4 separate regions of the Homo sapiens genome follow, and all the other regions are linked to region 4. The links are contacts of gene promoters, found by promoter capture Hi-C in blood cells and fetal thymus (Javierre and others, 2016). All regions are on one chromosome and are shown on one strand. The core of a region is centred on a gene start or on the middle of the fragment in contact, and the rest is flanking DNA. Distances in the headings are between cores, read along the strand shown. Region 1 overlaps TGM4 (transglutaminase 4). Region 2 overlaps TOPAZ1 (testis and ovary specific TOPAZ 1). Region 3 overlaps ZDHHC3 (zDHHC palmitoyltransferase 3). Region 4 holds the start of ZNF660 (zinc finger protein 660).

Evidence for each region. The method cuts DNA at HindIII sites, captures the fragments that hold promoters and counts their contacts. A CHiCAGO score of 5 or more calls a contact.
Region 1: a contact is called between a fragment that was not itself captured here and the fragment with the promoter of ZNF660 in region 4, in 6 of 17 cell types (activated CD4 T cells, total CD4 T cells, total CD8 T cells and 3 more). The highest score is 6.7, in activated CD4 T cells.
Region 2: a fragment that was not itself captured here is called in contact with the fragment with the promoter of ZNF660 in region 4 in 1 of 17 cell types (megakaryocytes); the score reaches 6.6 in megakaryocytes.
Region 3: a contact is called between a fragment that was not itself captured here and the fragment with the promoter of ZNF660 in region 4, in 6 of 17 cell types (naive CD8 T cells, total CD4 T cells, total CD8 T cells and 3 more). The highest score is 6.9, in naive CD8 T cells.

Annotation. Positions count from the first base shown.
Region 1 is chr3:44,879,762-44,886,297 of GRCh38, reverse strand. It overlaps TGM4 (transglutaminase 4), which reads right to left. Exons shown (of 14, transcript NM_003241.4): 2 at 800-973. Among named protein-coding and RNA genes, the nearest start is that of TGM4, 8.4 kb to the right of the region's middle. RefSeq lists enhancers at 407-701, 1,727-2,404. The HindIII fragment of the contact is 1,286 bases long and covers 3,346-4,631 here.
Region 2 is chr3:44,318,204-44,324,713 of GRCh38, reverse strand. TOPAZ1 (testis and ovary specific TOPAZ 1) reads right to left here. Exons shown (of 20, transcript NM_001145030.2): 17 at 3,523-3,687; 18 at 1,419-1,622. It overlaps LOC105377055 (a long non-coding RNA gene), which reads left to right. Exons shown (of 4, transcript XR_940782.4): 4 at 1-23. Among named protein-coding and RNA genes, the nearest start is that of TCAIM, 17 kb to the left of the region's middle. The HindIII fragment of the contact is 1,680 bases long and covers 3,222-4,901 here.
Region 3 is chr3:44,915,893-44,922,794 of GRCh38, reverse strand. It overlaps ZDHHC3 (zDHHC palmitoyltransferase 3), which reads left to right. Exons shown (of 7, transcript NM_001135179.2): 7 at 1-6,902. Among named protein-coding and RNA genes, the nearest start is that of TGM4, 45 kb to the right of the region's middle. The HindIII fragment of the contact is 6,368 bases long and covers 1,788-6,902 here.
Region 4 is chr3:44,581,782-44,588,816 of GRCh38, reverse strand. ZNF660 (zinc finger protein 660) reads right to left here and starts at 3,853. Exons shown (of 3, transcript NM_173658.4): 1 at 3,810-3,853; 2 at 2,604-2,712. It overlaps ZNF660-ZNF197 (ZNF660-ZNF197 readthrough), which reads right to left and starts at 3,853. Exons shown (of 8, transcript NR_147692.2): 1 at 3,810-3,853; 2 at 2,604-2,712. All of the region lies in intron 2 of ZKSCAN7-AS1 (ZKSCAN7 ZNF cluster antisense RNA 1), which reads left to right. It also overlaps a transcript of ZKSCAN7 not described here. The HindIII fragment of the contact is 2,337 bases long and covers 2,998-5,334 here.

The DNA of each region.
Region 1 (6,536 bases), core at 2,739-5,238, 300 kb before region 4:
ACTATCTTGCCTCCCTGCAACCTCCACCTCCCAGGTTCAAGCAATTCTACCTCAGCCTCCCGAATAGCTGGGATTACAGGCACCTGCCACTATGCCCAGCTAATTTTTGTATTTTTAGTAGAGACAGGGTTTCACCATGTTGGCCAGGTTGATCTCGAACTCCTGACCTCAGGTGATCTGCCTGCCTCGGCCTCCCAAAATGCTGGGATTACAGGCATGAGCTGCCATGCCCAGCTTACTTGATCTATTTTTAAAACTTAAAAACAACATTAAAGAAGTAAGACCCTCCTCCATTATCCCACCACCTGTCACAAAATCTAATACATTTTCTCTCTTCCCCTAGTTGTACTTATGCACATATATTTACCTAGCTATAACAAATGCATGAGCCATTTCCTATTATCTTTGCAACCAAAATATGATATTTTAATCATTATTATTGGCTTGCCTCCAGCCCACCCCGCTATGGCATCAGCATACCTCAGTCCTATGATTCATCTCTACAAAATGTTCCAGACCCCACCACGGCAGATGCCCGCTGAGTCACCTCCTCTCTCTGCTCTGGCCCCTCCCCTGCTTAGCCAAGGAATCAGAGCCTCACTATGTGCCAGGTCCTGACTGAGCTTCCCATTCTATTCTCTTCACACCCGCTATTATTCCCACATTACAGATGGAGAAACTGGGGATCAGGGAGGGTAAGGCACTCCTGGCTCAGACTGACCAGAAAGGGCCACTCCAGCATCCACAGACACTTGTGATCCCTCCCCAAAGCCCCATGAGTAGGGCCCCGAGGCTTCACCTGTGCTGAATTCCAGTTTCAGTTGGTGGTAGGATTGTAGGGGCTGGTTCAGCACCAGCCGCAGGTGAAACACCTGTCCTCGCCGGAACACAGGACTGCTCGTTTGGAACTCCCATGTGTGGTGAGAAACGGCGTTGTCCTGATTCAAGAAGTCAATGTGGAGAACTTGCAGCTCTGTCAGCAACGCAGCACATGTGGAAAGAGAGCACAGAGAATGTTTATTCCCTGATCACCTCTTTCTGGGTTCAAAATCTGAGAGTGCATTGAGGTGGAGCTGGGCTTTAGAGTCGGGCATCCCTGCTCCACCTCCAGCTGGTTATGAATCTGTCTGAGACTCAGTTTCTTCACCTGTAAGACTGGTGTGCACATACCTACCTTGTGGGATTACATGGGGATGAGCTGAGAGCAGTGGACTCAAGTGCTTAGTCATGTAACCCCGCAAAATAGGTAAGTGCACGCCCATCTTACAGGTGAGGAAACTGAGTTTCAAACAGGGTGAGTCTGTGAGTGGCTGTTAGGCAAGTTTCCCACCCCAACTCCCCCTCTCTGCAGACATGGCCTCAGGAACAAACCTGGTGCCAGGGTGTTCTCCGTCAATCAACACAAAAGCTGAAGGGAAAGAGGGGAGCGGGCAAACTGAGGAGGGAACAGATGAGCCCTGGGATTGCTCCCCTTCCTGTTCAGCCCAGACTCCCATCAGCTTCAAGTCAGACACCATCCTGAGGTGAGAGTTCACATCCTGAAGAGAAGGGTGGGGTGCAAAGTGGCTGGGGTGAAGCCTTTTTATCCAAATTGAGGAGGAAGCACCAAGGAGCTCCCATGATCTGAGGCCAAGACTACTTGCATTATAAATGGGATTTTTAAGGCCAGGTGCAGTGGTTCACGCCTCTAATCCCAGCACTTTGGGAGGCTGTGGGGGCGGCGCATCACCTGAGATCAGGAGCCGAGATCAAGCCACTGCACTCCAGAATGGGTGACAGAGTGAGACTCCATCCCCCCCAAAAAAAACAGGGGATTTTTTTCTTCAATGCTAAAGTGAAAAGTACATTCAGTAAAAGAAATAATCTCCACATGCATAATACACCCTTTTCTGTAGCACATGTATTTCTCACCATGTGTCTGTTATAATGACATTTCGTATTACCTCAGCTTGAGACCCAAACCCCTCCCCTTTATCTAAAATTCAAACCATTCCCAGGCTCATGAGTCATGAAGGGAAATGTGTTTTGGCTGCATGCTGAAACCACCTGGGGGTTGTAAAACTACTTATGTTCTCCCCCAGCGATTCTGATACAATTGTTCTGAGTGGGGCTGAGCCTCTATGTTTTCAAAGCTTTCCAGGCAATTCGAGTGTGCAGAGGGCATGGTAAAACACAGACTGCCAGACCCACCCTGAGTTTCTGATTCAGCACATCTGGGGTGTGGCTGAGAATTTGCCTCTCCAGCAGCTTCCTTGATGACGCTGTGCTGCTGGCCCAGGGAGGCACATATGGAGAACCCCTAGATTAGGAAGCCCCGCTGTGGCCTGTGAGGTAAAGTGAGGTGAGATGCAGGGACCTTCCTCTGCTCCTGAGGGCTCACCCACAGAGGAAACCCATCCTCTGCAGAGATCAAGGAGGCCAGCCATGGAAACTGGGCTTTCATGACTACAAAATAGGTGGAGTGGTCACGCCCACATCAGATGCCTACCTTGGGGATGCGGCCAGTGATGTGTTTGGAGACAGCACAGCTCATTCTTGCTGGAGTGGCTTTGGGATTGGGGTCTGGACAAGTGTTCTCCAGGAAGGCAAGTCCCAGCAAGTGGCCTTCCCTTCACACTGCGCACAGGGCCTGGGAACCTGCTGCCTCCAGCAGGGAGGCCCACCTGGCAGACAGACCTACCTTCCCAGGTGCTTCCCCTTCTTGGGCTGAAACCTTGGGGTGGGCCGATGGCTAGCTGGAGCATCTTAGCCCATTTGTGCCACTGTTATGGAATACCTGAGACTGGGTCATTTAGAAAGAATAGAAATTTATTTCTCACAGTTCTGGAGGCTGGGAAGTCCAAGATCAAGGCACTAGCATCTGGTGAGGGCCTCTTGCTGCATTGTAACATAGCAGAAGGCAGAGGGCGAGAGAGGACCAACTCCCTCCTTCAGGTCCCTTTAGAGGGGCACCTCATCTCATTCACAGGGAAGAAGCCCTTATCACCTAATCAACTCTTAAAGGCCCCACCTCTTAGTATCACCACATTGGCAACCCCTGAATTTTAGGGGGAGACATATTCAAACCATAGCATGCTGTCAGGAGCTGCAATCCTGAAAGGCTTCTTCATTTCCCTGGACAGCAGAGCTCCTGCTGTGGGACCCAGAGCCAATCGCAAAGCAATCACAGCTGGAAAAGGGCTTTAACAGTCCCTCCCATGTTCTGACTTATTCCTGCTCCCCCATGGACTGGGCAGGTGGGTGACCTGGGTTCCCAAGGGGTAAAGGTATAGGTTTTGGTACCAGGAAGCAGGAAAGAGCAGTTAAGAAATCCAAATCCTAAATGCAGTCATCTCTGTGGAAGCTTCTTAAGACCTTATCTCCCTGGAATGGTAAACATAGTCCCTCCCTTGGTGGCTAGTGTGCACATTGAGTGCCTGGCACATGCCTGGCACACAGTAGGCACTCGACAAAATGCAGGCCATCATTAATGTTAGGCAGATGGGCATATAGTGGGTTGAATGGTGGTCCCACAGAAGATATCTCCACCTGGAGCCTATGAATGTGACCTTATAGAAATAGGGGATTTTCAGGTGTGATTAAGGATCTTGTGATTATATTATCCTGGATTATCCAGGTAGGACCTAAATCCAAGAATAAGTGTCCTTATAAGAGACATGGAAAGGCAAGGGGAGGGTCATGTGAAGATGGAGGCAGAGACTGGAGTTACACAGCTGCAAGCCACAGAACACCTGGAGCCACCAGAAACCAAGAAAGACAAGGGAAGATTCTCCACTGGAGGCTTCTGCAAGAGCAGGACCCTGCGGACATTTTGATTTTGGATGTCTATCTTCCAGAACGAGAGAATAATAAATTGCTGTTGTTTTAAGCAGCCTCATTTGTGGTCATTTGAATGCCCTAAGAAACCAACATACAGCACATAACAGATGGCCAGTACTGGAGCCTCCTCCCTCACCCTCTCCTGGGCACTGCTCTGTGACCTGAGCACTGCTTAAGGCAGATCTGGGAGGCTGGAGGAATCCTGGAACTACAGGAAGCCACACTGGGGCTGTCTTTAAAAAAATGCCTTTGGAGTCACATACCTGTAATCCCGGTTACTCGGGAGACTGAGGTGGGAGAATCACTTGAGCCCAGGAGTTTGAGGCTGCAGTGAGCTATGATTGCAGCTGTGAATAGCCACAACACGCCAGCCTGGGCAACAAAGTGAGACCTCAACTCTAAAAAAAAAAAAAAAAAAAAAGCGTTTGTATTTTTATTTTGTAGCTATTGCACTTGGATAGATGGTCAAAATTGATATACCAGTTTAATGCTTGCAGTGTCATAAATGCAAGATGACCAGGGAAACCTGCAAAGAAAAAGTGTCAGTGGAATACAATGTCCTTGTTTCTTGCCACCAATGTGTGGGTTGGAGTTTAAATTATTTGAGTATTAAAAAACAAAAGTCTCTGCAATGGATAATTTTTGCTATAACTTTTGCCTATGAAGCCTCTGGAAAAAAGGAGACAACATAAAAGACAAGCAATCTCCAGATGGCGATATACTTTTGGAGTTTTAAAAAGCAAAGTTGCTTTTAAACTAAAATTAGCATTAGTTGCTAATGAGCTCTTGTGAAATTGTCAGCCTTAGAAGCTTATGATTTTCCAGTCTGTATGTATATTTTTGAGTGGGTCAAGTGGGACTCTTGAAATGACAAGAAAAAACGCACTTAAGAGGATCTTGGTGACTTTATAAGAAGAGGAAGACCTGAGCTTACCATGTGATGCCCAGCACCACCTTGGGACTCCTCAGGGAGTCCTCGCTAGGAAGAAGGCCCTCACCAGATGCAGCTCCTCGACCTTGGAGTCTCAGCCTCCATAACTGTAATAAATGAATTTCTTTTCTTTATAAATTACCTGAGTTTTAGGTATTCTTTTATAAGCAACAGAAAATAAACTAATACAATTTCCTTCTCCTTCCTTCTGGTAAGGCAGTTTGATTATTAAATACAGCTTTCCCCAGAAAGGGACTGACCTTTTCTAGGCTGCTCAATGAATAAATGATCAGGACAAAAAATAGTGAGAGGTTATTTAAGATTACTTTGATTTTTTTTTTTTTAATACAGGGCCTTGCTCTGTCACCCAGGCTGGAGTGCCGTGGTGTGAACACGGCTCACTGCAGCCACAACCTCCTGAGCTCAAGGGATCCTCCCACTTCAGCCTCCAGAGTAGCTGGGACTACAGGTGTGCACCATAGTGCACTTCATAGTGGTGATGAAGTCTTACTATGTTGCCCAGGCTGGTCTCAAACTCCTGAATTCAAGCGATCCTCCTGCCTCAGCCTCCAAAAATGTTGGAATTACAGACACGAGCCACCACACCCGAACTACCATTTTGAAAATTTTTGAAAATTCAGGATTTTGTCCTGACCAATTCCAGAATATGATGTGTTATTCTGGTTAGGTTGTATTAAAATATTTTTCTGTAAAAATGCTTTTGTCCCTCTTGCAAACAACCATTCCAGATGAAAGGTCTGGGTGAGAATAAGAGATTACTAAAAACAAAAAGAAAATAAAGTTATGATTGCTGAATGAATGAGATACACAGAGAAAAAACATGTCACAACTAATTGCTAAAGGAATTAAACACATCCTGTGTGACACTGGAGAGGACTCTTGGAAGACCTGCCTAGCTCCCTCAGGACCTCACCCCAGCAGGCTTTTCCCTTTGCTGATTTTTCTTTGTACTTTTTGCCACAAGAAATCACATTCCCCCACCCCCCAGTGTCCATATTGCTGCCTGAGTCTACTGCCACCTGCCAGCAGGCACTCCTGGAGAGTCTCCTTCCCAGAGTGCTTGTGGGAGCACAGCCCCTGCAGAATGCATACCGGTTATGAAAAATTTCAAACATCACCTCTTTCTGTAGAGGTCTGGGATTCCCCCATACTGAGAAAGTAAAATAAACAGTTGTCCTTGGCTCATAGGCAGAAACTGGCTCCTAGTCACAGTTGTCACTGGTTTAGGGGATAAACGCCAATCTTCTTTGGAGTAATTCATTCTCCACCAAAGTTTTATGGCATTCCCACAGATAAAGTCACACTCAAGGTGAGCTTATAGCCCCAAATTTTAAAACACAAAATACACTATTTCAGCAGAAACCACACAAGTATTCGTCCAAGAAATCAGATAATATACAGACTATAAAATAACGTATATAGACTATGGACCAGGCACAGTGGCTCACGCCTATGATCCCAACACTTTGGGAGGCTGAGGCAGGGGGATCCCTTGAGCCCAGGAGTTCAAGATCAGCCTGGGCAACATAGAGAAACCCTGTCTTTAAAAAAAAATTATTTAATTAACTGAGAATGGTGATGTGCACATGCAGTCTCAGCTACTTGGGAGGCTGAGGCAAGAGTATCTCTTGGGCCTGGGAGGTCAAGGCTGCAGTGAGCCATGTTCACACCACTACACTACAGCCTGGGTGACAGGGTGAGACCTTATTTCAAAAAATAATAAATAAAATAAAATATTAAAAAATATAGGGCCGGGCACAGTGGC
Region 2 (6,510 bases), core at 2,812-5,311, 260 kb after region 4:
AAACCACTGACTTGTATACTTTAAATGGGTGACTTGTATGGCATTTGAATTATACTTCTATAAAGTTGTTAAAAATTTTTAAAGTAAATGATTAAGTCTAGATGCTTTAATATAAAATTTTATTTCCAACTAAAAAATAGAAATATTTATAAAAATCTCATTTAAATGTCTGAGCTTATATTTGTTCCTGTGGCATATAAACACCTTTTGATGGCATCTCCCCCCAGTTGCACAGTTATATGAAATTATTCCCATTAACTTCAATTCTAGAAACTAAAATCACACACACACATATATGTGTGTGTGTATGGTTTCTAGAAGTCTGAAGGTAAATAGTATAAAGAGTTGAAACATAACCACACAATTGAAATTAGGTGTTATGAACAAACAATTCTATCTTTCCTCTAAATTTCTGATCACCCTTTTTAAGAAAACTCAGCTTTCAAAACTTCTTTTGATTATAACCTACAAGAAACACATTTTGCATAATGACCCAGTATACATACGTGCATATATGCAACTGAAATGAAAATTTTATCAAATAATTAAACTTACTACCTGTAATGTACCCTAGTATTTTCTTTCCCATTTTGTTGGGGAAAAAAAGTTACCACCTGCTGCATTGATCACAGCTGGCCACCTGAAAAACACTTCCAGCTCAGGTAGTAGTGGCTAGGATATTTGACACATTTGGTACGGGGTGACACAGAGTAGGCACTCAAATATTTGTTATATACATGATAGTGGTAGAAATGGTAGCTGAAGACAAATTACTGCATGAAGGCAGAAAAAACAATGCTTTTCTAGATCTAGAACGTACATGGAATTACTTTCTAATTAAAATACCTGCGAGGTGGCTTGGACTAGAGAAAGCACTAGTTTTCCAGGCTTATTTGTTAGAGAACAACAGCTGTAAGTAGATTAACAAAGTTCTATTACTAAAAGCCATGTGAAAAACATATACTATGTTGCATTGTTATGACAGCCTTTATGCTTCTGATGTGACCTGCTATTGAATATTTTTAGTTATAACAATTAGGGATATAGCAGAGATAAATAAAAACAGATCTTCTTTAAACTTCATTCTACCCACTTGTTTTATGCTTGCATTATTTATAAGATATGCCAAACTGGTTCTATCCTGTCATTTGTTCCCTTTGCTCGCCCTCTAGCGGACAGGCTACTGTGCAAGAAATAAAGATTGGAAATTGCAAACATTGGAAATAAGGAAAGCAACTGGAAACAGAAGAGAAACAATAGGTTTCAAAAGAGAGCACAGATCTGTTGAGACCACTACATTTGAATATGTATTACTGCTCTTTTAATACATATAAATATCTAATCTTATATATTATAAATTCTGGGTTAGAGAATACAATTATAAACCAATATATTAAAACATTTTAAATGTAACTTACTTTTGTAGTGGGCTCTGGCTTTGAGCCATAAACGACTCCTTCCTAAAGAAGTAATTAATCTTCTGAGAAAGGAAAAATCAATAGGGATGCTCTTTGAAATCATGAATTCTGCCACAGAGGATGACATACCAAGACTACTGCTTTCTATACAGGAACCTAGAAGCTTATTAAAAAGAAGGCTATATTGTGAGACTTCCACAGTTTCTGGAATAAAAAAAATGATATAATAAAATTCATTTATATTAAAGTGTCTCAAACCTCCATCTCATACTCCTTTTTCTTTCTCCTCCCCTTCACCCTTTCTTACCCATTATAGGACTCACAGTCACTAAAATGCAATCATTTTATATATTCTCTTTATTTTTCTTCTCCTTTTTTGAGACAGGGTCTCACTCTGTCAGCCAGGCTGGAGTGCAGTGGCATGATCTTGGCTCACTGCAACCTTCACCTCCTGGGCTCAAGTCATCCTCTCGCCTCAGCCTCCTAAGTAGCTTGGACTACAGGTCCACCAGGCCTGGCTAATTTTTATGTTTTTTTGCAGAGGCAGGGTTTCACCATGTTGCCCAGACTAGTTTCGAATTCCTGGGCTCATCTATGGCCATACCACCCTGAACACGCCCATATCGTCTGATCTCAAATTCCTGGGCTCAAGTGAACTGCCTGCCTCAGCCTCCCAAAGTGCTGGGATTACAGGCATGAGCCACCGCGCCCAACCTATCTTACATATTCTCTAAGTCAGAAACGAAAAAGCATTTGACAAAAGAAAAACCATTAACTTCCTTTGCAATAGAGAAGATAAAAAGAAGCTTGACAAAAATTTCAGAGGATGCATTAAGACCTCTGTATTTGATTCCCACATGTAACTGTGTATCTGTAGTGTCTTGAATAATTTCTCAATTCTGTTTGTATTATATCTACAGTTCAGACCTTAGCCTTATATATCCCTTGACTAAAAACAAATCATCCCCTAATAAATATTTACTGCCAAATTTAAAACAATCCTTTAATGGATTTTCTATTCCTTCAGTTATTCTTAGAAGAAAGAGAAGTCATCTTAGAGACTTCTCTTTTATTCCCTATATTCAGTCAGTTGGGTCTGTGAGCTAGACTGTAGTTCCTTACTGCTTTAGAATCTTTTAGTTATCCAGGACTTATCAGGAAATTAATCTCTCTACTTTTAGTCTTTTCCTAAACACTACTGCCAGAGGAACTTTCCTGAAACACCAATTTCATTATATCACTCCCTAGACCCAAAACTCTAGTGATCCCTTTTTATACACAGAGAAGAAAATTCCTTTAGCCTGACATTTAGGGTCTTCCAAAATCTGGCACAACTATCTGTCCAATCTCCCTATTACTACTTTGTTTCATTACCAACTAATTGTATATTAAGAGATTGCTAGATAGCAGCCATTGGGCCAGGAATACCAAGGTAAAGAAAATAGTACCATCCTGATTGAGCTCACTTTGTATAAGGAGAAACAGATAAGAATGCTCATTACAATACAGGAGCACAGTGGAATTAAGTGGAAAAATGAAAATTTATAGATAGTACGATGAAAGTACTGAGGGGAGGCCCTCAGGTTAACGTTTTCGTCATCCTCTGAACCTATCACATAGCTCATTCTTGACCCAAAGCTTTTGCTCATGGACACCCAACATTCAAGAGTACTGACTACCATTTCCCACATTGGCGTTTGAACTTGGCATCTGTTTCACTTCCTCCATTTCTTTCAAGTTTACCTGTGTTCCTAGGTAATGTAAACTAAGTTCTGTATTTATTCAGTGATAAGAGAAAAAGCTTGCTCAGGGCATTTAAACATATTGTTTGCTGATGACTTGACAGAAGTAGGGAAAAGGGAATGATAAAAATGCTTGTCTTAGGAACTGCTGACAAACAACCCAAAGATAAGCATCTCAGATTTTTTTAAACCATCAGGAAAGTATATTCAATTTGCAGAGAACATATTTTACAGAAAACTACTTCATTAAAAAATATGCTGGAATATAAAACTCAATCAAAACAGGTGGATAACTATTTCTTATTAACAGTTAAACACCAGATGGGCAAGAGATAATTAAGATAGACTTTTAAAAAACATACCTTGGGAATTTTGAAAACCTGGTAGATTCTGCAAAACTTCAAATGTCTGTCTATAAAGGCTCTTGGCTAAGATTTCATGTGCAATTGTACAGAGTAAATTATGTCGATTAAGCACATCCAGTCTATCACAAGGCCACAGAGGCGTATTGATTATCCACTCTGACTCTTCCAAAAAGAAAAAAATATGAATAGTTTATACCATGAAAATGACACTTAACAGTATAATCACAACTAATGTTTCAATATATCTTTTGAAGAAACAGGCAAAACTTAAACATATGTACTCAGAGAAGATAACCATGGCTCAAATTTATTAGAAATAACTTATATAGTGATGATCATCATCTGAAGAAGATGCAAACAAATGGCCACTTTGTTATATTTATTTTTAATTAATTCTTCATCTAAGTGTACTAGTCAATTACTAATTTTAAATGTTTATTTTTATATAAAAAAGTTCAGATTATCACAAATATTTGCTTTAACATAAAATATTATTTATGTGGACAAGTTTAACAATTTCACAATAAATAATTTAATTAGTTTTTGGTATTACTGGGGAATAGCTTTTCTTTTCTTTTCTTTTTTTGAGATGGAGTCTCACTCTGTCACCCAGGCTGGAGTGCAGTGCAGTGGCGCAATCTTGGCTCACTGCAACCTCCGCCTCCCGGGTTCAAGTGATTCTCCTGCCTCAGCCTCCTGAGTAGCTGGGACTACAGGCGCGTGCCACCACACCTGGCTAAATTTTTTGTATGTTAAGTAGAGACGGAGTTTCGCTGTGTCAGCCAGGACAGTCTCGATCTCTTGACCTTGTGATTGGCCCACCTTGGCCTCCCAAAGTGCTGGGATTACAGGCATGAGCCACTGCGCCCGACCAGCGAATAGCTTTTCTTAACACTTTCTATTTTAAAAACAATTTCTATTATGAAATCGTTGTTGTATACAGAAGAATAATATATGTTATAAAAGCATAATAATAAAATTAACTCCTGTGTACCCATCACACCCACCTACGACCCTCAAACCAACAGACCTCAGACCCTCTTTAAAAAAAGAGAATATTACCTATAATGCTGAAGTTCCTTAATTTCTGCTCTGATTTTCACATTGAGAAAAACAATGGGAGACTGTAGTACAGAACACTGAGGTACTAAAATGTTAGAAATGTCAATATTTTATCATTTACCTAATTTACTCAATCATTATACACATAGTGAAACATTACTATATGTAACATTCAAATCATATTTTGGTGCTCTTTTTCAACTGAACTAAATGTAGAAGTAATCCTTTTATTTTGTGGCCTTCCTAGCACAGTGAATATAAAAAGTATTGAAGAAAAAGTTGATAATTCAAATATATCATGACAAAAGAAAGCTTTTAGTATCCAGTATAAAGCTTTAAAAAGGAGCTTTTCAATTACTAGAGCCCATGTGATTGACTGATTGACCTAACAGAGTTATACTATGTGTTAGGAATGTTCTAAGTGCTTTAAGAATATTAACTCATTTAGACAGATACTTTCATTAATTTGCTTCTACATTTGCTGACATTTTAATATAGAGAGAAATGTAAATGAATTTAATATCTTCAAAGACTGTATGATCATCTGTTAAACATAATTCCCATTAAAAGTAAAACTGTTCGTTCACCATTCCTTATAAAGTGAATTTTACTTTGATTGAATAAGTTCAATTATTTTTTATCTGTTAGATATATCCCATGTACAAAAAGTAGATTATATAAACCTTTTCTCATAAAAATTGCATCATTTTTCTTTAATACTTATTCTTTATATTTAAGGTAGGGTAATGGTCACATTTTTTGGAAAGTATATATGGTATTTTAGGAGATTCATTTAAAATTTTTATCAAACTGTTTAGGTATATAAAAAAATCTGACCTAGCATGCTCTCTCCCCACATCATCTCCCTGTCTGGGTTTTTGTTTTTTTCTGTGTTGCCATCTTTTTTAAAAACCTGTTCAGTGTTGCCAATCAACCAACGGTCTGTGAGGGGCAGCATGGGATCAGGCAGCAGGGTTCTTCCCCGCCTTGCCTTGGTTCCTTTGCAGGATTGAGCCACCTGGCCGTGGGGGAAGGGGTCAAGCTATATCCCAATACGTGTAGGGTAATGGTCCCTGGTGGCACATCCAGGTTGTGGGCCGAGCTGTGCTGGGGAGAACAGACCTGGGCATGGAGGGGAACTGCTCCCCAAAGGTTTCCGGTTGCCTCTCCTCTTCCTACTTTTGTCAGCCGATCAGTTTGTGGTTTCTGTGCCCGCAAAGGCTTCAGGAAGCATTAACAAAAGAAAACTATATATATATATTTTTATATATAAAGGTATACATTTAATATAATTATATAAAATATATATTATATATAAATAAAATATACATATTATATATATAAAATACATATATATATTTTTTTTTTCCGAGGAATGGGGCAGGGATAATGGAGATGGTGCTGGGAAATGAGTCCCCTGGGAGAGGGGGCCTGGCCATGATGCTGAAATATCTCAGGCTTCTGAATGGCTGGATTTCCCTAGGACCCTCAGAATAACAGACCTCAGATCCTCAGACCTGCCCTGGGGCCTGGTGGTGAAACTGAGGCCCGTACAAGGCAAGTCGAATTCTGAGTTGTTGGGACTAAGCCTGACCCCCTCTCTATGCAAACCCTCCCCCGCCCCACTCCCCCACCCCCCACCGTGGCCCTCAGTAGGGTTTTGTTTTGTTTTTTTGAGATGGAGTCTCAGTCTGTCACCCGGGCTGGAGTGCAGTGGCACAGTCCTGGTTCACTGCAACCTCCGCCTCCCGGGTTCAAGTGATTCTCCTGCCTCAGCCTCCTTAGTAGCTGGGACTACACGTGCCTGCCACCACGCCCAGCTAATTTTTGTATTTTTAGTAGAGACAGGGTTTCACCACGTTGGCCAGGATGGTCTCGAACTCCTGACCTCAGGTGATCAATCCACCCACTTCGGCCTCCCAA
Region 3 (6,902 bases), core at 3,722-6,221, 330 kb before region 4:
AGAACTTGTTAGAAATGCACATTCTCGGTCCCCACCCCAGGCTACCGAACCAGAAACCGAGCGGGGCCCAGCAGCCCGTGTCTTAACAGCCCTCCAGGTGATTCTGACTATCAAGTTTGAGAATCCAGTTGGGGCTAGCAGGAGTCCCCCCTCAGGTGGTCCCTGATGCCTGCTGGTGATATGGGTCTTGTGTGCTGCTGGGCTCAGCATAGTGCAGTTGGGGTGTGCTGATTGTGAGACAGGCACGTGTTCCCTCCGCGGAGAAGCCACTGAGACTGCCTTCCCTCATAAGCTGCGGCCTCCCCAACAAACAACTGCCAAGACATCAAAGAAAGTCTGTATGAAGCAGATCCAAATTATTAGCCTGCCCACCACTCCTTGTGCATCTCATCAGTGGAACCCATCTCTAGACCAAGGGCCCTTTGGGTGAAGAAGCAGCCCGGAAGGGAAAGAGAAAAGAGTAGAACCAAGGGACCTCCAGATGGGAGCGGCGGCCGGTGAGTAGTCTAGAGCCAGGGGCATTGTAGCAGCCTGGATACATGACCTGAACACGTCTTGACCTTTGCTTTCTACGTGTGGGTTTCAACACCCATGTGGCTTTTTCTTGTATTCTTTAAATATGTATCTGGCTTAGGATCACCTCATAGAAGAGAAAGAATTCACAGTGAAGCAGAAACAAGCCACTGACCAGCGTACTCCCAACCTGAACCTTCTTTTTCTCACCCTCTCCCTCAAGTAAACATCTTGCTGACTTGAGCAGTGTGATTGCCGTAGCAAAGCAGAGTGGCCCCCAGGGATCCCGCTCTGTTGGGCCCACAGGAGGAGCCGATGAAGCTGATCCAAGGAGTGAGGACAAGCGCTGCAGAGGGACGTTCGCTAAAAGCCTTCTAGGGGCCGCACATGCTCTAACACGGACATAAGGATGCCCTGAATTTCTGCAGCTGAGGCCATATAGTCTGGTGACCAAGTATTTGGGTCCTGGCTTCAGTCTTTGGTTGAAATGTCTGCTTGGCTACTTATTACCGCACCTACTACCAAAATATGACCTTGAGCAGTAACTTCTTTAAGCCTCAGTTTTTTCATCTGAAAACGGGAATGATAATCTAAATCACAAAGTTAATGGAAGGATTAAATGAGGGTGATGAATAGGAATGTATAGCGTCTGGCCCTGGTATGGCTTTATAAATGTTAGCTGTGTTGGAGCTGTGCTTTTCAAACCATTGGTCACAGCCATTCATGGTTTGCAACCAGCATGTTTTTCAAGAAAAATGTTTAATGCATTACATATTGCAGGATAAGTATTGTTTTATGAAGCTTAGGGAGTTGTGTGTATATGTGTTCTGGAATGCAACAGAAAAATGTTTCCTCTTGTGGGTTACAATATAGAGGTATGAAATCTCTGATGAGGAGAGACAGTGTTATCTGGCCCGCTATGAAGAGACACATTTGCATAGGCTGCTCCCTGAGGCTCTGGCTTTCTACATCTGATGATACAGGGAGCAGGGAACAGCCTGTTCTCGTTCTGTGGGGCTCAGCTGAGTCTGTTCTGCACAGACTCTTCCTTCCTCGGGAGCCTTAGTCCTAATACATTCATTTTGGAGTGTTGGTGAGTTTGTTCACAGATCACAGCTCATGTGTCACCCAGACTGACCTGGGCCAAAAGGCCCATCACACACCCTGCAAGAGCTTCTGGTGTCGACTATGACCCCCTTACCAGGCATCAACCATTTTTGTTCGTTCTCTTGAGCCTGAAGCTACTATTACTGCTCCTCTGCAAACCTCAAGCTTAAGAACTTTGCCTGCAGGATCCCTTTAAATCCACACAAAACTCAAAATTGAGTCCTACCAGGAAAAAGCAGCCCTCAGCCCATTTTTATACATCGGATTTGTTTGCAATATTTTCTTTCTAGACTCAAAAGTCAACACTCCCTGAAAGTTTGTCGACTTTACTGCTGAAGACCTCTGGTAGACAGGCCAGGCTCTGTCTGGAATACTTTATGAGGTTGGTGAGGAGGTTGAGTATAATCCAAGAGTGCCTATCTGGGAGCATGCCACATGAATGGCAAATAATCATCCTGTGGGCTCTTGGCTTCATTCCCCTTCTCTCTGACTGAGCTCAGCCTGGGCACAGTGGTGATTTGCAGTAGAACTGGAAACCTGTTGGGCAGAAAAAAAGACACTAGTTCTGGTTCCAGTTCTGATACATAACAAGCTAGATGAGCCTTGGCCACCGTCATGGCCTCTTGGAACTTCTGTTTCTTCCCCATCTGCCAATCATCAATACTCATACCCACCTCCTCACAAGGAGGCCATAAAAACCTATGGTCATGGCTTTGAGTCCAAGTCAGTGTGGATGCAGCCAGTCTGTCATTTTTGGGTGTTTCCTCTGTAGCCGGGTCTGCCATATGGTGATGTCCCAGCTCTCGTGCTATGAAGTTAAAGCCTCTTTCTCAACAGGCTGCAGATGATCACCCAGGAAGAGAATGCAGAATGCCCAAAGCAAACCATCTCAGCTGGTCACTGCTTCTGTGCCAAGAAGGGAGGCCTGGCGAGGGGCCAGTCAGGAAGCAGCATGGCATCACATGCTCATGACCCACATGAAGGTCCCTTTAGACTTGTGTCAACAAGATCCATTTTCTGAAACAACTATTTTTGTTCTGATTATAAAAGTAACATTGGCTCATTGGTAAAACTTGGATTGTGTGAGAAGTCTACAGAAATAAATACAAATCCTCTAGAATTCCATCCCCAAAAGTAACCACTCAGACAAATGTTCTAATGTCATGTAAAACCATATTAAACCATCTTTTCTAGCTGCATAGTGTTATAGAATCATTTGCTTAACCATCATTATTGGGCATTTCTCATTTCCAGCTTTGCATTATTATAATTCAGTGTTCAAGTTTGTATTGCATAAATCTTTGTCTCAGATTATTGATTATTTTTAAACTTTTTGTGAAATCAGACTTACAAAAATGTGACAAAAACAGTACAAAGAGTTCCCATGTACCTTTCAGTCAGTCTCACCAAAGGTAAACATTTTATACAACCATAATACAAATATAAAACCCTGGACATTGGCAACACCATACCCTTAACTAATGTATGTACCTTATTCACATTTCTCCAGTTGTCCCATTAACACCCTTTTCTGTTCCAGGATCCCACACTGCATCATTTGCGATGTCTCCTTAGTCTCCTCCAGTTTGTGACAGTTCCTCAGTCTTCCTTTGTCTTTCATGACCTTGACCCTTTTTAAAAATCGAGGTGAAATTCCTGTAACACAAAATTAGCCATTTTAAAGTGTACATTTAATGCATTCACAATGTTTTGTAACCACCAGGTCTGTCTGGTTCCAAAATCTTTTCATCAATCTTTGACCCTTTTGAAGATTGTAGGGCAGGTATTCTGTAGGCTGTCCTTCAGATTGTGTTTTTGATGTTTTTCTCATGATTAGATTGAGGTTAGGCATTTGGGGCAGGAGCACTGCTGAAGCAATGTGTCCTCGTTGCACCGTATCAGGAGGCATATGGTGTTGATACGTTTCATTATTGTGATGTTAACTTTGATCATTGGGTGAAGGTGGTACGTGCAATGTTTCTTCCCTGCTATTAAGGTACTGTTTTTCCCTTTGTAATTGATAAGTATCTTATGAGGATATACTTTTGAGATCCAATTTTTTTAACTTAGAATTTATTCAAAAGTCAAGAATCTTAAATCTCTGAAATGGCGTGGGAAGAAAAAGTGCTAGATACACAGAGATCTTTCTTGAGTCATGTGAAGGAGCAGTGCCCAAGCCCAGCAAACCCACAGCAAATTCCCTTGGCTTCCAGAAGAGATGGAGAAAGCAGTGCCCCCAGTGGAGGGTCAAAGGCCTCTGTGCAGGGTGTTGTGGGCCTGGAGAGCTGGCCTGGCCATGTCTTTACCTCCTCTGGGCATCTCCCCACCCCAACACCCTTTCTGTGGCCTGGTGGCTGAGTTGCAGCCGACACCCAGAGGCAGGTGAGTTGACAGCTTGGAAGAGGCTGCAGGGTGGATCTGCTGCATGAGCAGGCCTGAGCCCAGCCTTACCTCCCCACAGTGGTCCTGTGTGCCCTCCGGCTGCCTAATGCATGTTGGCACTTGCTGTACGAGCACCCGCTTCTTCACCTCGCATGCTGTTTGTGTCCTGCACTCCTTCCTTAACCCCATCGTCCTTCTGCTGTGTTTGCAGCCCCTATCTACCCTGGTGGGAGTGGCCAAAAATATTTAGGAGGGGATCACCAGTTTGTAGTGGCCTCAGAGGATGTGTGGTCCCCCTTATGCCTCAGCCACTCATCAGCCTAGCCCCTGCCCATCATCTGGCATTGCACTTGTGGAAGGAAAGAAGGGGAGGGCTGGGTGGTGGGTGGAGAACACGTCAGTCCACCAGGCGGGCCCTGCTTGCTGTGTTCCTCCACGCTGCTGTCCACCCACACCCCAGCAGTCCTCTGAGGGACCTCCCGGGGGTGACCTGGGCCACAACAGACTGCCCACTCAGACCCCATCTTACCCATGCCGTGGACACCCCGCCCCCCCCCCCGCCACTGCTATGCTATAGCTGGGGGTGTCTATGTGAGCTGTACAGCCCAGCACCACGCTGACGATGTTCTTCATCCCCTTCTCCCTGCAGGGCATCGAGCGCCTCAAACGAAAGAACCAGCCCAGGGAGCACATGGGGAGCTGGCAGTCAGTAAAGGAGACCTTTGGTGGGGACTTCTCCCTGAACTGGTTCAACCCCTTCTCCAGACCGTGTCAGCCAGAGATCCCCAGTGACAAAGACATGGTGCGGCAGGTGACATCGCTGTCAGACACCGAAACAATGGAGGATCCATCAGAGGAGACAAAGGACGAGGACTCTGTGGAGGTGACAGATGAATAGATGCTGCTGTGGGGAGAGAAGCAAACACTAAAAAGTGCTGTCAACCTTCATCCTGGGGTTTTGGCTAAAGGGGCTTATGGGCATGGTGCGCTCCCAGCACCCCCAGTGCTTCCCTTAGCCACTCGCTTGGCCTTGCCATTTCCCCTCCTTCTTCTCTCCATGTTGGGCCAGGTCTGGGGGTCGGGAGTAGGCTGGGGACATCAGAGGAGGATGGGGGCTTTCTCAGAGTTCATCTAAGAAGAGTCTGCACTGAGACGGCTCATCAAGAACCGTTCTCCAAGACTGGGTGGCTTTCACATTCTCCGCCCAGCAAAGGGAGCTTTTGAACAGGGCATCCCAGGGGCAGAAAAGAGCTTGCCTTTGGCTTTCCCCAGGATTTCTGTCTTCTCTTGGGAAGGCTGGGCCCCTGGCTCCTGGCTTTGAGAAGTAAGGTTGTGACAGAAGGACCGGGCAGGGCTTGCCTTGGGGACCTGGGTTGGGACACTGACATCAGGGGAGACTAGCCTGGAAAGACTGCAGAGCTGCCAGCTACTCCCTGGAAAGGGCTTCCCCATGCTGCCTGCCGAAATTAGGAGGTAGAGGTGGCTGCCACATCTACCTGCAAGGGCCAGGCATGGTTCAAAGAGGACCCTGCATTAAGCTCTACACACACATGTGCAGGACATGTCCAGCATGGACAGAGCCAGAGTTAAGACAGTAGCACCGAAAATGAGCCCCCATTCCACAGACACTGGAGTCTTCACTGAGCGAGACAGCTGGGAGCTGTCCTGCCTGTGGCTACATATCTAGCCATTCACAGATGTGGATATGGGAAGGACCTCTTTGGAGCTACTGGGGACTCCCTAACCACTCGCATGAGAACTTAATTGAATGTTACCTCTTGGAGGGAGTCTAATAACACATGTAGGTAGAACTGACCATAAACCCTGCCTGTGTGTTTGAAAAGGCCAGTTCTCCCAAATTGGTGCCCATCTTGTCTCTGAAAAGATGGGTGATGGCCAGGGTCTGCTGATTGATGAATCAGATGAATCAGGAAGATAGACAAACACACACACACACACACACACCCCACCAGGATGAGTCTGCCCTCTATTCACCCCATTTGAAGCCTGTGGTGTCTGTGACCACTGCTGAAGGTCTGAGCAGCGTTCTGGTGCTCCTAAACCCCATTCCAGTGGTTGCTGAAGCAGCATCTTCTGCACAAAGCCCAACAGAAGGGTTCTTATCCCCGTTTGGTATAAGAAGTGGATTCACCACCCACTCCCTCCACGTGCCTTTGTTCCTCTCTTTGGCCCATTTCCCCAGCGTCTACTGGCGTCAGGATTGGCAGGAGCACAGGCACTCAGCAGAGCATGCCCCTGCAAGACCTCAGTGTTAGGGCCCCCCTTCCAGCTCCAGGCAAAAGGGCATGAGTCCTGGCCCCAAGGGGCCTGTGGCTGCAGTTCAGAGGAGAAGAAGGTCAGTGTTTGGAGGTGCAGCCTCAGGATGCTGAGAAAGGAAACTGGCGACCGTGAGAAAGAAAAGAGCCAAGCAGCATCCTGGTTCTTGGACAGCATCTTTGGACACTCTGTGAAGGGCAACGATCCTGCCAGAGACCGTCTCTCTACAACTGATGACCCACTAGGGCCTGGGGTTAATTGCTCAAAGGGCCCAGTGTTCACAAAGCCACCTCTGCCCTAACCCTTGCCAGAGCTCTCCAACTATGACCCACGAGAGGGGTGATGGTGGGATTCTAACATCAACAGAGCAACCAGAAAGACATTGGGCCTCCCACACTCAGGCTGCAGGCCCACTTTCTTGGTCCTTATCAGCTTTAATATTTATTAATGACGACATAGGAGCCCGAGTCAGCTGTAAAGGCCATTAACTTGCAATCTGGACAGGAAGTTGACGCTCACCACTTTGGGTAAGAGCTGCTCTGACTGTAGGGCCCCCTATTTGTTGTCCTAACCCAGAAGCAGCTCTGGGCTGCCAGGATGGTGGATGGAATACCAGAGAGTTC
Region 4 (7,035 bases), core at 2,604-5,103:
GACAGAGAGGACAGAGGGAGTCATGAAAATGTATAAACTTACTGAGGGTCGGGCACGGTGGCTCACTCCTATAATCCCAGCACTTTGGTAGGGTGAGGTGGGAGGACTGCCTGAGCCCAGGTGTTTGATCAGCCTGGGTAAAAATATTTTAAAAAGTGAGCCAGGTGTGGTGGCATATGCCTGTGGTCCCAGCTACTTGGGAGGCTGAGGGAGGTCGAGGCTGCAGTGAGCTATGATCATGCCGCCACACTCCAGCCTGGGAGACAGTGAGAACTTGTCTCAAAATAAATAAATACATTAAAAAAATAAAAAAACAGATAAGCTTACTGAGAAAGGGATTTGGGTTAGAAAAGTGATATCATTTAGATGTTCCTTCCAAATCTCACATTGAAATGTAATCTTCTATGTTGGAGGTGGGCCTGTTGGGAGGTGACTGGATCGTGGGGGTAGATTTCTCATGAATGGCTTATCGTCATCCTCTTGGTTCTGTCCTTGTGATAGTGAGTTCTCGTGAGATCATGTTGTTTAAAAGTGTGTGGTATCCCTCTGCCTTGCTCTTGCTCCTACTCTCACCATGCTCTGCCTCCTCCTACTTCACTTTCCACCATGAGTAAAAGCTTCCTGAGGCCTCCCCAGAAACTGAACAGATGCTGGCACCGTGCTTCCTGTACAGCCTGCAGAACAGTGAGTCAATTTAAACTCTTTTCTTTACAATTAACCCAGTCACAGGTATTTCTTTCTTTCTTTCTTTCTTTTTTTCTGAGACGAAGTTTCGCTCTTGTTGCCTAGGCTAGAGTGCAATGGCGTGATCTCAGCTCACTACAACCTCTGCCTCCCAGGTTCAAGTGATTCCTCTGCCTCAGCCTCCCGAGTAGCTGGGATTACAGGCATGTGCCACCACGCCCAGCTAATTTTTTGTATTTTTAGTAGAGATGGGGTTTCTCCATGTTGGTCAGGCTGGTCTCAAACTCCCAACCTCAGGTGATCCGCCCACCTCAGCCTCCCAAAGTGCTGGGATTGCAGGCGTAAGCCACCGCGCCCGGCTGGTATTTCTTTACAGCAACACAAGAATAGCCTAACACAAAGGGGCAGGTAGGGAGAAAGAGAAATGCACAGCGATGCACTGTAAGAAAGCCCAGGGTGGTGATGGAGGAGCTGAGGAGGAAGCAGGACCAGACAGGAGATCAAAGAGGGCCAAATGAGGAGAGTTTGATCAAAAAGAAACCTATTTGCTCCCTTCTGTCTGATTGGATAGGAAATGCCCTCAGAAATCCTGGAAGAATTCCTAGGTACTAAGGAAGTAGGGTCTTGGCTGGAGAAGTTTGGAGGGAAACATGAGGCCACAGGCCAGTAGGACACTAGGGGTATCTAGGCAACTGTACAGAAAAGCAAAATCTCAGACAGCCAGTGAATGTATGAGGACTGATAAGGCCCTGCAGATCTCTAACCCACAAATCTCTGAGACTGGTAGGTAAGTGTTCTAATCCTAGGACCACCATCCATTTCAGGCTGTGAAAAATACATAAAGGGTAGAATCCTATTGAGAGAGAGAGAGAGAGGCTTTACTTGGAGGCTGTCTTCCTTTAATTCACCAGCATCATCTGCCTGTTCAAGTCCCTCTAAGCAATGGTTACATGGTTCTTGGTTATTGATTAGGTGCAGTGGAGTAAGGAATAAGAGGAAATACCTGAAAATAAATTCAAGGGATGGATAAGTGAAATGTAAACATTGCAAGAAAAAAAAAGAATTAGAAGAAAGGCCTAAGCCTCAAGGGAAAGGCTAACACCATGTGAAAAAGCTGATATATCTGACACATAAAAATTTCTGTATTCCAAAAAATGCCATAACAAATCTATAAAATAGAGTTTGCCTTATACTGGAATTGCTTGTGTGTATGTCTGTGTCCATCCTCAAATATATACATTAAGCTCTATGCCCTCAGAGAGCAGTTCCCATGAGATTTGCCTGTAGATACCACATGGTGTCTGACACAGAGAGGGCTCAGTCAGCATTGTTTGATTTGAAATGGTAAATTAAACAAGTTTAAGATTCTAACACCTGGAGTGCACATAGGGATGCTGAGAGCCAAATCCACACATCACTACTACCATCCCTCCTCTACATGTTTGTCCTTTTTGTGCTTCATATTATCTGGGAAACACCATAATGGTGTATTTGCATTCTTGGCAATTCTGTCTCAACAGAGTCATCCCAGGGACTAAATTCCCTAAGAGATTGACCTGGTCCCACTATTCAGAGACTCTCAGTATGTCAGAGCTGGAAGGAACCTCCCAGTCTATCCAGTCTTATATCCAAATGTACAGAAGGAAAACTTGGAACTTAGAGGAAAGCTGGGACTCAAATCCAAGTCCCATGACACCCAATTTTGAGTTCTACTACATCACCCTTATTCCCATCTGAAACAAAACTCTACTCCTCAAGGTCCAGAGGCCCCCTGCCCACTTCAGTGCTTTTCTCCTGTTTGATAAATACCACTGAGAGAAGCTCCCTTTCAACCCTGGTGCCCACAAGCAGGATTCCTGTGCCCAGACTAACTTCACAATCTAGGCCTCACCTGCCCAGGAGAGAATGGAATGACTCACCCATATTCCTGTGCACAGCAGCCTCAATCCAAAGGATCTGCACAGCACAGATCTTGCCTGATCTCCTCCTTGAGTTCAGTGAAGAAGTTCCTAAGAGGGTCTTGAGTCACTGTAAACAGATATAAATGACTGAGTTCTCTGAGCCCTGAATTCCAAGTGGACACTCAGGGCAGTGTCCCATCTTTGGGTAACTTCCCTTCCTATAGAACTGTGGGCAGTAAGAAGGATCATTTCCAGTGTAAAGATGAGGGAATGAAGCTCCCAGGGATTGAACGACTTGCCCAAGGTCCTATAGCTAGTGAGTGATTAAAAAGCCTTCTGTGTCTTCAGGAAATCCTAATTCCATCACACCACAGCCTCCCCTTTTCACCTGCTCCATTGATATCTAAAAGCTTCCATATTCTCATCTAACTGCAAAATACAATGCAGTGGAGAACTTCCTTGCAATCCAGCTTTCCACAGAAAGTCTGCACAAGGGGGATGAGAGGGAGAACTTTGCTGAGTCAAGTGTCTTTAGGAAGACAGAAAGAAACAAGTCTTTAAAAGAGCACTAGAAAAAGAATGTTCCTTTTTTCTGTTTACCCATTTCTTAGGATTACTAAGCCTCAAATATGTTTTGTGTTTCCCCCTCCAGATCCCCAGGCTCTGCTTCTAACCCTTGAAGTTTGTTTCATTTCTCCCCTACTAGAATTTAGTTCTGTCCTGTACACAACCATAACCCCAGGACCTAGCACACTACTGGGTTAGTGCTCAATAAATATTTGTTGAATGAATCAATGAATGAATGAGTAACCTTGGGCAAGACTCCGTCCTCTTCTCTGGGCCCCAGGTTCCTCACTGGTAACGGGAGGGATATTGGACTGGTGATTTGAGTCAAATACTCAGGGGCTGTGGAGTCCTGAGAGCCTAGGCGGGACTCGACCGCTACTACCCGGAAGGCCCACTGCCTAGGAGCGGGGACGACACAGTGCTGTCACCACGGCCAGCCTGGTCCAAGCGAGCAGCTACGAGGAGTCAGAGACTGGACCCAAGACAAAGGGGCAGCACTGAACGAGAGAAAGGGGAGGCCCACAACGACCCCTTGGCTGCCGCGCCCATCTCAGCAGCGGGCAGCCGCAGAGGAGCCCTGGCCTCCTGGCTTGCGTCTCCCACACGCTCCCAGAACCCGGCCCGACCCCCCACGCCAGACTGTAGAGCACCCCTCACCGAAAGCGCCAGACCCACATCTTGAACAAAGCGCAGAAGGAACTGCGTCAGCAACTCCCAGCTAACTCCCAGCCTGTCCCTCCGGCCCTTCTAGGCTTCGTGAGGTTTCCACATCTCTGTGCCCGCGGGCTGGAGTCCCCCCGCCCCTCAGAAGCCCCGCGCGGTCGGCCGACGCTCTGGCCCTGCCTCCCTTCCGGGCTTTGCCCTATCATTGGATGGAAGGGCTTGGCGACTTCAGCCAATGTGAGGAGGGCCCTGGAAGTGGTGGAAGCTGGGCAGGGGGCTTGGTTAGGGCGGAAAGAGACCGAGCATCTGGGTGGCCAGGCTGCCAGCCTCAGGCTGAGACTCCCTAAAGTTACACCCCCAGCTCCGGTTGCTGAGCAGAGAGGTCATCTTTCCTTCCACAGATCTGGGTCATTCAGCCTCAAAGCCAGGATCAGCTATGGTTTATTGGCAGCATATGAAAAGACGTTTTGGGTGCCTACTATGTCACTCACTGTTCCAGGCGCTGCGGATACAGTAGTGAAGAAAATGAACTCTCTGCCCCATTGAGTTTACATTCAAGTCAAGGAGACAATGATAAATAAATATGTAGAACGTAGCAGTAAGGGGAGAGAGGGAGTAAGGGGAGAGAGGGAGATAGTGGTGGGACTATTTTACAGATGACAGGGAGGGCAGAGACAGGAAGTGGGCAATTGAAGCATGTGGCTATCTGGGGAAAGAGTATTCCCATAGTGGGCCATTAGGAGCAAAATTCTTTAATCAGGAGTGGGGTGGAGAGGTGCACATTTAGGATCTTGTAGACTATGATAAGGGCTTTGGATTTGCTCTGCATAACAGCTGGAGGGCTTGGGGACAGAGGAACGACATGATCTAACTTTTTTTCCCTTACCACATATTCAAAGACTTGTTAGCTATGAGACATGAAAGAAGCCAAGAAGCCTGTTACTATAAATTCTGTGAATTCTTTGCTGTCTGTCCTTAGCCATTCTAACATAAACCTTGCATGAATTTTGCTCTTTGACTTATATTTTTAGTTTGCTTTGGCTGTCTTGTTGAGAACGGTCTGAAGGTGGGTAAGAGTAGAATCAGGGAGATTAAGAGGCCATTACAATATTCCAGATGAGGACTGATAGTGGCTTGGACAGGCTTAGAAGTGATGCAGGTAGTGAGAAATGGTTCTGCATATATTTTGAAGGCATGGCCTGCATGATTTGCTAATGAATTGAATGTTGGTTACTGATGACTCCATGGTTATTGATCTGAGCAACTAGCATGGGATGGTCTTTTAGAAATCGAGTAGCTTGAAAGGAACAGGTTTAGGGAGAGGGATTAATAGTTTTGTTTTGGATGTGTTAAAGATGCCAATTAAACATCCAAGATGAAATGCCAAACAGGCAGTTGGAATAGGAGTCTGGACTTCCGTGAAGAGATCACAGCTAAAGACATAAATTTGGAAGTTGTCAGGACAGGATGAGACAATCTAGGGAATGATTTATCTAAGAAGGAGTCTGAGAATCAAGCTTTTGAAGTACTTCGTCAATTGACAAATATTCAGTATTTAATATTGTTGAGTACTTAAAGTATACCAGGAGCTTTCTTCTCCATTGGCTCATGTAGGTGGCACAACTCCGCCACATTGTATAGAGATTGAAAAAGAGATTCAGACAAAAGTCCTCCACAAGTTCACACCCTCAGTTGATGTGGGACGTAGAACTCGGGACACTCTCCTGAAGAGCACAAGACTACTGCCACTACATCAAGAAACTTAAAAAGAATAGGCTGGGTGTGGTGGCTCACGCCTGTAATCCCACCACTTTGGGAGGCTGAGGCGGGTGGATCACCTGAGGTCAGGAGTTCGAAACCAGCCTGGCCAACATGGTGAAACCCCGTCTCTACTAAATATTACAAAAATTAGCTGGGCATGGTGGCAGGCGCCTGTAATCCCAGCTACTCAGGAGTCTGAGGCAGGAGAATCGCTTGAACTCGGGAGCTGGAGATTGAAGTGAGCCAAGATCACGCCATTGTACTCCAGCCTGGAAGACAAGAGTGAAACTCAGTCACACACACACACACACACACACACACACACACACACACGAATATTCATGTACATTAAGGGAGCTGTGATCTTTAACTTACTTAGTCTTCCCTTTCACCTACTCTTTCATTTGGGTGGGTGGGGCCATTCATTCTGATTCAAGCTGCTAACCCTACATCTGGTCCCAGGGAGGAATGATTACTCCTTAATATTCTAGTCCAGTAATTCTCAAATTTTAGAGAACGTAAGGGTCACTAGAATATATGTTAAAAATAGATTCCAGCCTGCCTGTATCCAGCTTCTATTGCCCTTATCCACAAGCATACTTTTTCCTACAAAAATCTATTCATTCAGTCAAGTATAATGTCACTGCTCAGAAATCAGGGTGTTTTTTTGTGTGTCATAATTGCCTAAATACTCAGCAATTTCAATCTTTATTATGACATCTATCTGCCAAAGAAATTCTAACTCATTTGGGTAAATGAAATCAACGTCTAGTTGGTCAGGTCTTTTTAAGTTTGTGGACTAGGCCATCTAAGGGGAAAAAACATTGTAATTTTAGTCAGTTGACAAGTCTTAACCAGGCATCATTTCAGGAATACCCACAGGCCAGAAAGGTGGGCCGTCATACATTGCTCTCCTATTGTGTTTTCATGTAAAGCACTCACATGCCTTAAAAGGGAGTCTGCATCTCACCCTACTTGGCATCCACCTGGGTAAAGTGACCCTGTGCATATATTAGTGGAGGACTGTTATGATTTGGTGAATAATAAATCTAAAATGTCCTATCCTGGATCAAGTACTAGCACCACTAGGTGCTTGTGGAGCCAGCTGTAATCGTTAACACCTTCCCTGTATCCAGCTGTGGCAAATTCTACTGGTCCCCATCAGGGCAGAGCATGACCTGATGTTAGGGATAGGGGATTTACTTTCAATTCTTTTTATAGTGCCACCATGTGCGTATTCACAATTGACAAATTCACAACCTGTCCCTAACCCCTAGAGGTTTTCAGGAATGCACGCTCTGTAGTACTCCAGAAAAAGGTCAACATCTTGACAGAACTGTCTCCCAACATGGGACAGTACTCAATAACTTGTTAACATCCACCATCTCTTGACATTTCCTACTGCATTTAGAAGCTGAATGACCAGGGCTGGAGTTTATGATAAGGGTTTGGCTGTAGA